3 separate regions of the Homo sapiens genome follow, and regions 1 and 2 are each linked to region 3. Evidence: promoter capture Hi-C in 16 types of primary human blood cells and fetal thymus (Javierre and others, 2016). All regions are on one chromosome and are shown on one strand. The core of a region is centred on a gene start or on the middle of the fragment in contact, and the rest is flanking DNA. Distances in the headings are between cores, read along the strand shown. Region 1 holds the start of PARD6B (par-6 family cell polarity regulator beta). Region 2 overlaps PTPN1 (protein tyrosine phosphatase non-receptor type 1). Region 3 holds the start of STAU1 (staufen double-stranded RNA binding protein 1).

Region 1 (2,700 bases), core at 121-2,620, 1.5 Mb after region 3:
AGGTGGGCAGGGAGATGAGGGGAGGAAGGTACCCTAACCACTCTTCTTGCCAAATCTCAGGTTGGACCTTCCCCTCCACCTCCATTCCCCTGCCCCCTTCCTGGCTTGCAGGTTTCAACAGCTCTTGGATTCCCGGGTCCCACAGGGAGACCTTGGGACCTGGGAATCTCCTCCAGCCAAAAGCTTCAGTCTTCTCCTCTCCTCCCCATGACCCACAGGGTCTGTGTGAAGAGAGGCCGGGCTCTGGGACGTTCAGAGAGGAGGATTCAGCGTTTTGTTGCTCTGGGACACAGCTTGGTCACTCCGGGAAACGAACACAACCTAGAGGCTGTCATTTGTAGAAACAGCGAATGGCCAAGGAATGGCGGGAGGAGGGAAAAGGAAGACTTTTAAAGAAAAAAAAAAAAAGCCCTGAAAGACTGGACTAGAAATCCTCAGGGAGGCTGGGCCTGCAAGGAGCCTTCCCGCGCCTCAGCCCACTTTCCTTCCCTCTCGACCTGACGGACTTAAGGCGTGCAGAGTCTCTTCGGACAAAATGAAGCCAAGAGAGCCCTAAGCTTCTCCCCCAGCAACCGCTGCAGAGGCGGGAAAACTTGAATTTTGCAACCAAGAGTTGCAGCGGGACGCCTAAGCAACGATAAGGGGCGGTGGAGGGGCGTCGTTGGGGGCTGCAGCATCCCAAAGTGGAAGCGGGAAGGGGGCCCGGCTGGAACCGAATAGCCCCGCAGCGCCTCGGCAACCGGACGGGCGGCGCATCCAATCCCCTGGACCGTGCGTGTGACTGGCGCGCGCTAAGCGGCGCGAGCCCCGGCGGAGCCGGGCAACCAGGCGCGCGCTCGCGCGTGCGCAAAAGGCCCACCCAGCCGAGCCCTTCTTCAGGTGCGCTCGCGCTTCCGGCCGGCCTCCCCGCGTGCCTTCCCGGGGCGGAAACTCCAGCACCCGCGCATGCGCCTTCTGGCTCTCCGGCCTGAAGCGGGGCGGAGGGCCATGGCTTCAGGTGATCCCGCCCCTCCCTCGTAGCGCAGGACCAATCGTGCGGTGGTAGGCGGGGTTTTGAGGAGGCAGCCCGCCCACGCACCGCGCGAGGCGTGTATCGATTGGTTGGCGCCGCGGGCGCAGGTGCGCGCTTTCTATTGGGTGTGGGCGGAACGCGAGGGATTGCGGCATCTTCGGGGGCTGCAGGTGAGCGCGCGCACGCGCCGCGGCTGTGGTCCGCTCGGGTGCGCGCGCGCGGGCTCGCGGGGGAGGCGGCAGAGGGAGAGGTTGCGGCGCTTGTGGCCTCCGCTCCGCCCCCTCCTCTCCTCCAGCGCTGTCGCCGTCGCCGCCGGGGCCCGGAGGGAGGGAGCTGCTTCCCCGCCTGCCGCGCCACCAGTCCGACCCTCGGTCCCGCCGTGTGAGCAGCTGGTGGAGTGGAGCTCAGCGCGGACGCCGGAGCTGCGGCCGCCCCCTCTGCAGGTGCCTGTGAGGAGGCGCCCGGGCCGCAACCGCTTTCCGAGATCCCCAGTCGCGCACTCGCTCCCCGCGCTCCTGAGGGGCCGCCCGGCCGGAGGAGGCCGTCGCGGGGCTCGGCGTTCAGCATGAACCGCAGCCACCGGCACGGGGCGGGCAGCGGCTGCCTGGGCACTATGGAGGTGAAGAGCAAGGTGCGCGGGGCCCGGGCTGGGCGGAGCGGCGGGCCTGGGGGGCCGGGGCCTGGGAGAGGCCGGGCCAGGCTCGGAGCGCCGGGGGAGGCGACGGGCTGAGCTGCCCCGGGGTCTGGACGGTGCGGTCGGGAGACTGTGGGTAATAAACTTGCCGAGGAGGGGGTGGCGGGGGTCAGGGGGCGCTAGTGTCCGCCCCTGGCCCGGGCAGGAAGAAGACCTAGTCCAGCATTTAATCTCATTCCGTAAATCTCATTCCCGTGTTCACGGACGGGAGTAGGGGCCAAGGTATATCCAAGGATGGCGCACACTGAGTGAAATGCGAGGCTGCTCAAAAGGTGTAGGAGAATCCTGCCTGCTGGGCTGTGAGTAAAGGGCCCTGGACCACCCCGTTGTTCCCACTTTCTGTGGTTAAGGGGCGCATCGAGTGGCGAAGGAGAGAGCCCAGTGAACTAAACAGCCCTTTAAAAGTTCGCTTTGCTTCCTGCTGGCGCTCTTTCTAGCACTAACTTTGGTATGCATTTAATCTGTAAAATTAGTACTATCACCTTACGTTGGAGTAGCACTTTACAGTTTGACTCTAGATGCTCTTTTCATTCCATCCTGCTACCTACTCACATCAAGTGCTTTTCCCCTTGACCAACGGTATGCCAATCTGCTGATAATTACTTCGGTATTCACTGAATTTCTAAATCTCAAGGCTCAGTGAGCAGGGTAGTCTGTAGGGAGGGATTAGTTAGGGAATGCCTTCCAAAGGGGGTTTTGAGCTGGAATTTGAAGGTGATCGGCAGCCAAGGGAACACTTTCAGCAAGCGTTTCTTGAGTTGAAGAGTTAAAAGGAGCTTAGATAATCTAGCCCAATTCTCTGAGAAGACTGAGGCTTAGAAAGGTTATGACTTCCTCAAGCTGTTTTTTTGCAAAGCCTTCATGCCTTTTTAATAACTTCTAGACATTGCAGAATACAAAACAGGACACTGGCTGGGCCCTGAGAACATTTAAAATAGAATTGAGAAGGCCAAAACACAGAAAAGGAGAAAATTGAAAGTATATCAATTTCAAA
Region 2 (2,700 bases), core at 92-2,591, 1.3 Mb after region 3:
ACTCCCCCCGTCCCTCCTTCACATTTCCTTTCCCCTAGTCTCAGTGTGCGTCGAGTCCCAGAGATGACAGTCCCCTTTCCCCTTTCTGTTCATTCATTTATTGGATAGGAGTTGGCAAGCTTATTCTGTGCTAGGCACCGCTTAGGCATTGGAGGTGGTGTTTGCTAATCAGGACAGGCAAGATCCTAGCCTTAGTGGGGCCTAGAGTCGAATAGGGCAATCAAACACAAAAGCAAATAATTTCAGATAGTGACAGGTGCTGTGAAGAGAACGACTTCCTAACGGGGTACAGGGTGACTGCATAGAAGGCCGGCTGTCTTAGAGAAGGGGATCAGGGAAGGCCTGTCAAAGGAGGAGACATTTGCTTTGTGAGCTGAACCAAGAGGAGCAGAAAGCCGTGAGAATATGGGGCTAAAGAACCTTCTAGCCAGGAGGCCTGCGGTACCCACTCCATTGGGGCCATGATATTATTCTTTCAGGCAGGGACTCAGGAAGGTTAACGTTTTAACCCTCTCTAAAATAGCATCTTTCCTCAATGAGCAGCTTAGTCTTTGGTCGTGGCAGAGATGACCTTGTCTTAGGAGTCATCTCCTTGTGTGTTAAAAAGTTAGGAAAGGAGGGTTTCTCATATATCTATAAAACAAGTAGTTAAAAACACAAAGAGCTCTTCCTTTCACAAGCAGCTGAATAAGATACATACTCCCAATTAAATGTCATTGCGGGGGTTGTTAAGATTAACTAAAACCACACTTGCACAGTATCTTAAATAAGCGATATACAGAATAGAGAGATTTTGTTACTTGTGTAAAGGGAGACAGCAGATGATTCTGTTTTCAGCTTATAGGCTCAAAAGGCAAATTGTGAGATCCATCAGCTGTAGTATTAAAATCTATTTTGAGCTCCGCTTAGAAAGGAAAAAAGGTTTAAGCAGTTCTTTGGTATGCTTGACTAACAAAAGCCTTTTTTTTTGGCAGCCTTGATTTTCATGTGGATTTACATCAAGCTTATTTGACAGGATTCTTTTTATTTGGACTGTAGTGTGTATATTAGTTTCTGCTAGACTAATATTTCTAACCACTGTAATCTATATACTAATAAGTATGATTGATCAGTATATAAAATTTGTATGCCATATCTGGTCTCTGAATTAGCTGAATGAATTCCATAAGGGACTTTGAGACTGTGTAGACAAATTTTCTGCATCAGTTTAATGCAGTAGAGTCTAAAATGTCTTTAAATGAAAATTGTTGGTCTGAAGTGTTGGAGTTGATTATGATACACCCCATCACAGTGGAAGCATTGTGGAGAGAAGTCTTTTCCACTGAAATTGACTGAGTTGACAACAAGAAATACGTATTGTAACTTAGTTCTTAGTTGAATTTTATTTCTTACAATTTTAAGCCAGAGTGGGTTGACCTGTCACCCAAGCATGGTTAAAATTGTATTCAGCATGCAACTAGCATGGAGTGTGTCAGTCTTCAATTCATTTCCTTCATTGTTCTTAAGTTTTTCTGCCACAATTAAACCCCACAAGTTAGTCAAGGTGTTGAGATTTTCACTGCTTCTTAATGGATTGCCACATTCCCTGAGGTAGTTTCTTTTGGTCTTAGAGAATTGTCAGGGCCAGCTTTTCTCACCTCCACTGTATGGATATTTTTCTTTTCTAAGATCTTGAAATCAGAAGCTTTTCTCCTAAGTGTAAAAGTAGCTCTTTGTCATACAACTGTAGCGTTTTCTGAAACAGAGTTCAGATGACCTTGAGTCTAAAGTGGCTAACTTTCCAAGGTGTGTATCGCTTTACCAAAACCATTATTTTTCAAGGATTCAAAGAATGTGTTTACAATTGATAGAAAATGGAAGTTTAAAAAAATTAATACTTTATAGCATGTTGAAATGAGGGCAGCCTTATACAAAGTCATACTTTGAGCTTGCCTAGCCTATTGTGATCAGAGAATAATGTAATTTTTGCTTACAACTTGGTAAGCAGGTCAGTTATTCTAACTTATTTTCTGATTAGAACAAAAAGATGTAAAAACTTGAAAACTATTGGGAAAAGAACAAAGAGTGAAGAGGACTTTTGAGTGCTGAGGAATGTGGCAGCTTGGAAAACAAACTTTTTAGGCAGAGATTCTTTGCTAGGTCAGTTTGATAAAGTGAGCATAACCGTATTTTTAATCTTTAATGCTAATGAATAGCATAGATGCTAATAAGCATCTAGGTCTATAAAAAGTCAGCTTTGATAGTGTATATAGATGGCTTTAAACATTGTTTTCTAGCATTTAAACACTTTCAAATCATCCGGTTGCTTGATTGGGCCTAGCTGTCTAAGAGGAGAGAATGAGCCCAGATGAGGAAAAGAGATTGATTTTACTGAGCTAGAATGAGAGGAGAGAGGGTTGAGTGAATGAAAAGAATAGCTCATGTGCTCCCCTCCATCTGTAGTTTAAGAGGGGTTGGGTCCGGTGTTTTGCTTGTTTTCTCGTCTGTAAATTCTTTGATTCTCTGACACCACTCACTATATTTCATTGTGAATGATTTGATTGTTTCAGATAAAGGGGACTGCAATAATACCTTGTGACATGAAGGCAAGATTTATTCATGTTAGAGGCAGGCTTTGTAAAATGGGCCACTCTTCCAATTGACATTTGTTTTTATAGCTGTTTTCATTATGAAATACAATCTAATGCCTGACTAGGTTAA
Region 3 (2,731 bases), core at 150-2,649:
GAAGAAAACTTCCACACAAGCAATACTGCAACACGGAGGCGGGGCAAGGGCTTAAAAGGAAAGTCAGCCAACAGGGAGGGGTGAATATAAGCAAAGCTTCCGTGAAAAAAAACTTATCGAGGTGTAGAGCAAGACAAGACAGACAAATTTTTCCATCTCCGTACACCCCCCTTCAGAGCCCAACACACAGCAAGTGCTCTAGATAGGTTTGCTCAACTCAAGGGAAGCTTCTGCCAGCAACTTTCCCAGAAATGGAATGACAAGAAGAAGCTGGATGATGGCGGGGCGGGGAGAAATGGACAGGTTGCTCATCCTGCGGGAGATGGTGAATATCCTGCAGTTGCCTAAGCGGAGATGGAAAGAAACAGCATCCATCGTTTACAGACTGTCAACTACAGTGTCCCAATTAAGCGTACGCCCCTTTCAGATGTTAACAACTGAAAACAATGCCCTGGCTCTGGACATGGGCACGCGGAACACTGCAGCCTCTAAGAAACCCAAACGGATAGGTAGGTCAACTTCTATCCACTCTGCCCATTAAATTATACCTTCATATCACGCTAATAAATTATGCAGACGGTTTACTGGGACACGCTGTGGGTCTGGCACTCTGATAAGCGCTTTACACGCCCCATTTCACTGAACCTTAAGAGGCAGGGACGGTATTAGCAGCCCCTTTTCCAACCAAGACACAAAGACTTTTTAAGTGTCTTGCCTAACGGGGCAGAGCCGGGTTCGGCACCCGTTTTGGACACCTGGGCCGTGCTCTTAACCACTAAGCTACAGACCTGGGCCGGCGACACTGAGAGGCTCCAGCCCTCGGGGACCTGAAGCAGGGACCCCCCCCCCCCCCCGCCTGCGCCCCAGCCCCGGGAATAACTTCGGCATCCCCGCGCGCGCCATGCGGGACGAGGAAAGGCGGCCGCAGCACCTGTTTGTGGCACCGGTGAGGGCTGGAGGGGATGGGGGCGCCCGGGGCCAGGCCTCAGGGCGCCCCGAGGCGAGGGAACGCAAGAGGACCCGCCTCCTCCGGGAAGGCCCCGCGGGCTAGAGAGAGGCCCGGGAGAAGGCGGAGGGGTGCGCGGGCCCGCCGAGGCCTAGGCCCCACCCGCCGCCCACCTCCCCACCGCGGCGGCGCCCGCGAGGGCCCCACCAGGCCCGGCCCGGCCCGGCCGCCTCACCTGGCTGCTGCTCCGAGCTCGTCCCCCGGCCGGCGGTCCTGGGCGGTGGCGGCGAGGAGGGGAAGGAAGAAGGAAAAAAGGGAGAGGAAGAAGGGACGAAGGGAGGGAAGAGGCGGAGTGGCCGTGGAGGAGGCGGGCGCCGCCGGGCCGGGGGGGGGAGGCGGTCAAAGGAAGCGGGAGCCGAGAGAGACGCGGCAGCCGCCGGCGCAAACGCTGAAGAGCCGCTCAGGCGCCCGCAGCCCGGCAGGAAGTGACGGGGGAGGGGCAGGCGCCCGCCCCCGGCCCCCGCCCGCCTCCAGGCCCGGCCCCGGCCCCACCCCCACCCACGGTCCGAACCACAAGTTCCGGCTGGCACTGCGGCGGAGCCTGCGCTCGCAAGGCACGCCGGGGGCCCAGCGGGAGGAGCGCCCTGTCCCGCCTGGACCGCAGCGGCCCGTCCTGAGTCCCGGGGCCTGCCGGGAGTTGTAGTTCTGGTGGGAGTTTCGCGCTGCCTGCTGGACTCGAAGCGGGTCTGGGAGAACCCAGCCTACCTTCTTTCCTCCTCCACTTCCTTTTTCCTTCCTTGCTGTCGCTTCTTCCTCTTGTCCTGCCTCTGGCCTTCCTTTCTCTCCTTCCTGCAGTTGTTTCTTCCTCCATCTGTAAATGTTCATTAAATGCTTGCCATATGCAAGGCATTGCTCCAAGAGCTAAGAATGTAGTGGTGAACTGACAAAAATCCCTGCCCTCGTGGAGCTTACATTCTTGTGTAAGTAAAATACACAATAAATAAAATTGAAAAATGTGTAGTGAGATAAAAGACAATGGCCCGGGCGCGTTGGCTCAGGCCTCTAATCCCGGCACTTTGGGAGGCCGAGGCGGGCGGATCACTAGGTCAAGAGATCGAGACCATCCTGGCTACCACGGTGAAACCCCCGTCTCTACTGAAAATACAAAAAATTAGCCGGGCGTGGTGGCGGGCGCCTGTAGGTAAACAGCTACTCGGGAGGCTGAGGCAGGAGAATCGCTTGAACCCGGGAGGCGGAGATTGCAGTGAGCTGAGATCGCGCCGCTGCACTCCAGCCTTGGCGACAAAGAGACACTGGTCTCAAAAAAAAAAAAAAAAAAAAAAAAAAAAAAAAAAAAAAAGACGAGAAGTGCCAGATTACTATTTATTTCACCCAGACCTAGATAAACTAAGTGGTTTTTAGCAGCTGTATTGTATGGGAGGTTGGAGAGAGGGTGGCCAGTAAAGAATCTTGGCCAGGCGCAGTGGCTCACGCCTGTAATCCCGGCACTTTGGGAGGCCGAGGTGGGCGGATCACCTGAGGTCAGGAGTTCGAGACCAGCCTGACTAACATGGTGAAACCCCGTCTCTACTAGCCGGATGCAGTGGTGGGCGCCTGTAATCACAGCTACTTGGGAGGCTGAGGCAGGAGAATCTCTTGAACCCGGGAGACGGAGGTTGCAGTGAGCCGAGATCACGCCATTGCACTCCAACCTGGGCAACAGAGTGAGACTCTGTCTCAAAAAAAAAAAAAAAAAAAAAAAGAATCTTGAACTTCTGCACACTC

Evidence for each region. Contacts are between HindIII fragments. The CHiCAGO score rates a contact against its expected background, and 5 or more counts as called.
Region 1: the fragment with the promoter of PARD6B here is called in contact with the fragment with the promoter of STAU1 in region 3 in 3 of 17 cell types (neutrophils, naive CD8 T cells and non-activated CD4 T cells); the score reaches 7.4 in neutrophils.
Region 2: a fragment that was not itself captured here is called in contact with the fragment with the promoter of STAU1 in region 3 in 1 of 17 cell types (fetal thymus); the score reaches 5.8 in fetal thymus.

The regions. Positions count from the first base shown.
Region 1 is chr20:50,730,210-50,732,909 of GRCh38, forward strand. PARD6B (par-6 family cell polarity regulator beta) reads left to right here and starts at 1,371. Exons shown (of 3, transcript NM_032521.3): 1 at 1,371-1,643. The coding sequence starts at 1,578. RefSeq lists an enhancer at 474-523 and silencers at 714-923, 1,024-1,813. The HindIII fragment of the contact is 2,238 bases long and covers 556-2,700 here.
Region 2 is chr20:50,511,012-50,513,711 of GRCh38, forward strand. All of the region lies in intron 1 of PTPN1 (protein tyrosine phosphatase non-receptor type 1), which reads left to right. Among named protein-coding and RNA genes, the nearest start is that of PTPN1, 2.0 kb to the left of the region's middle. The HindIII fragment of the contact is 681 bases long and covers 1,002-1,682 here.
Region 3 is chr20:49,186,935-49,189,665 of GRCh38, forward strand. It overlaps STAU1 (staufen double-stranded RNA binding protein 1), which reads right to left and starts at 1,400. Exons shown (of 14, transcript NM_017453.4): 1 at 1,182-1,400. RefSeq lists an enhancer at 144-213 and silencers at 614-773, 1,004-1,673. The HindIII fragment of the contact is 4,529 bases long and covers 226-2,731 here.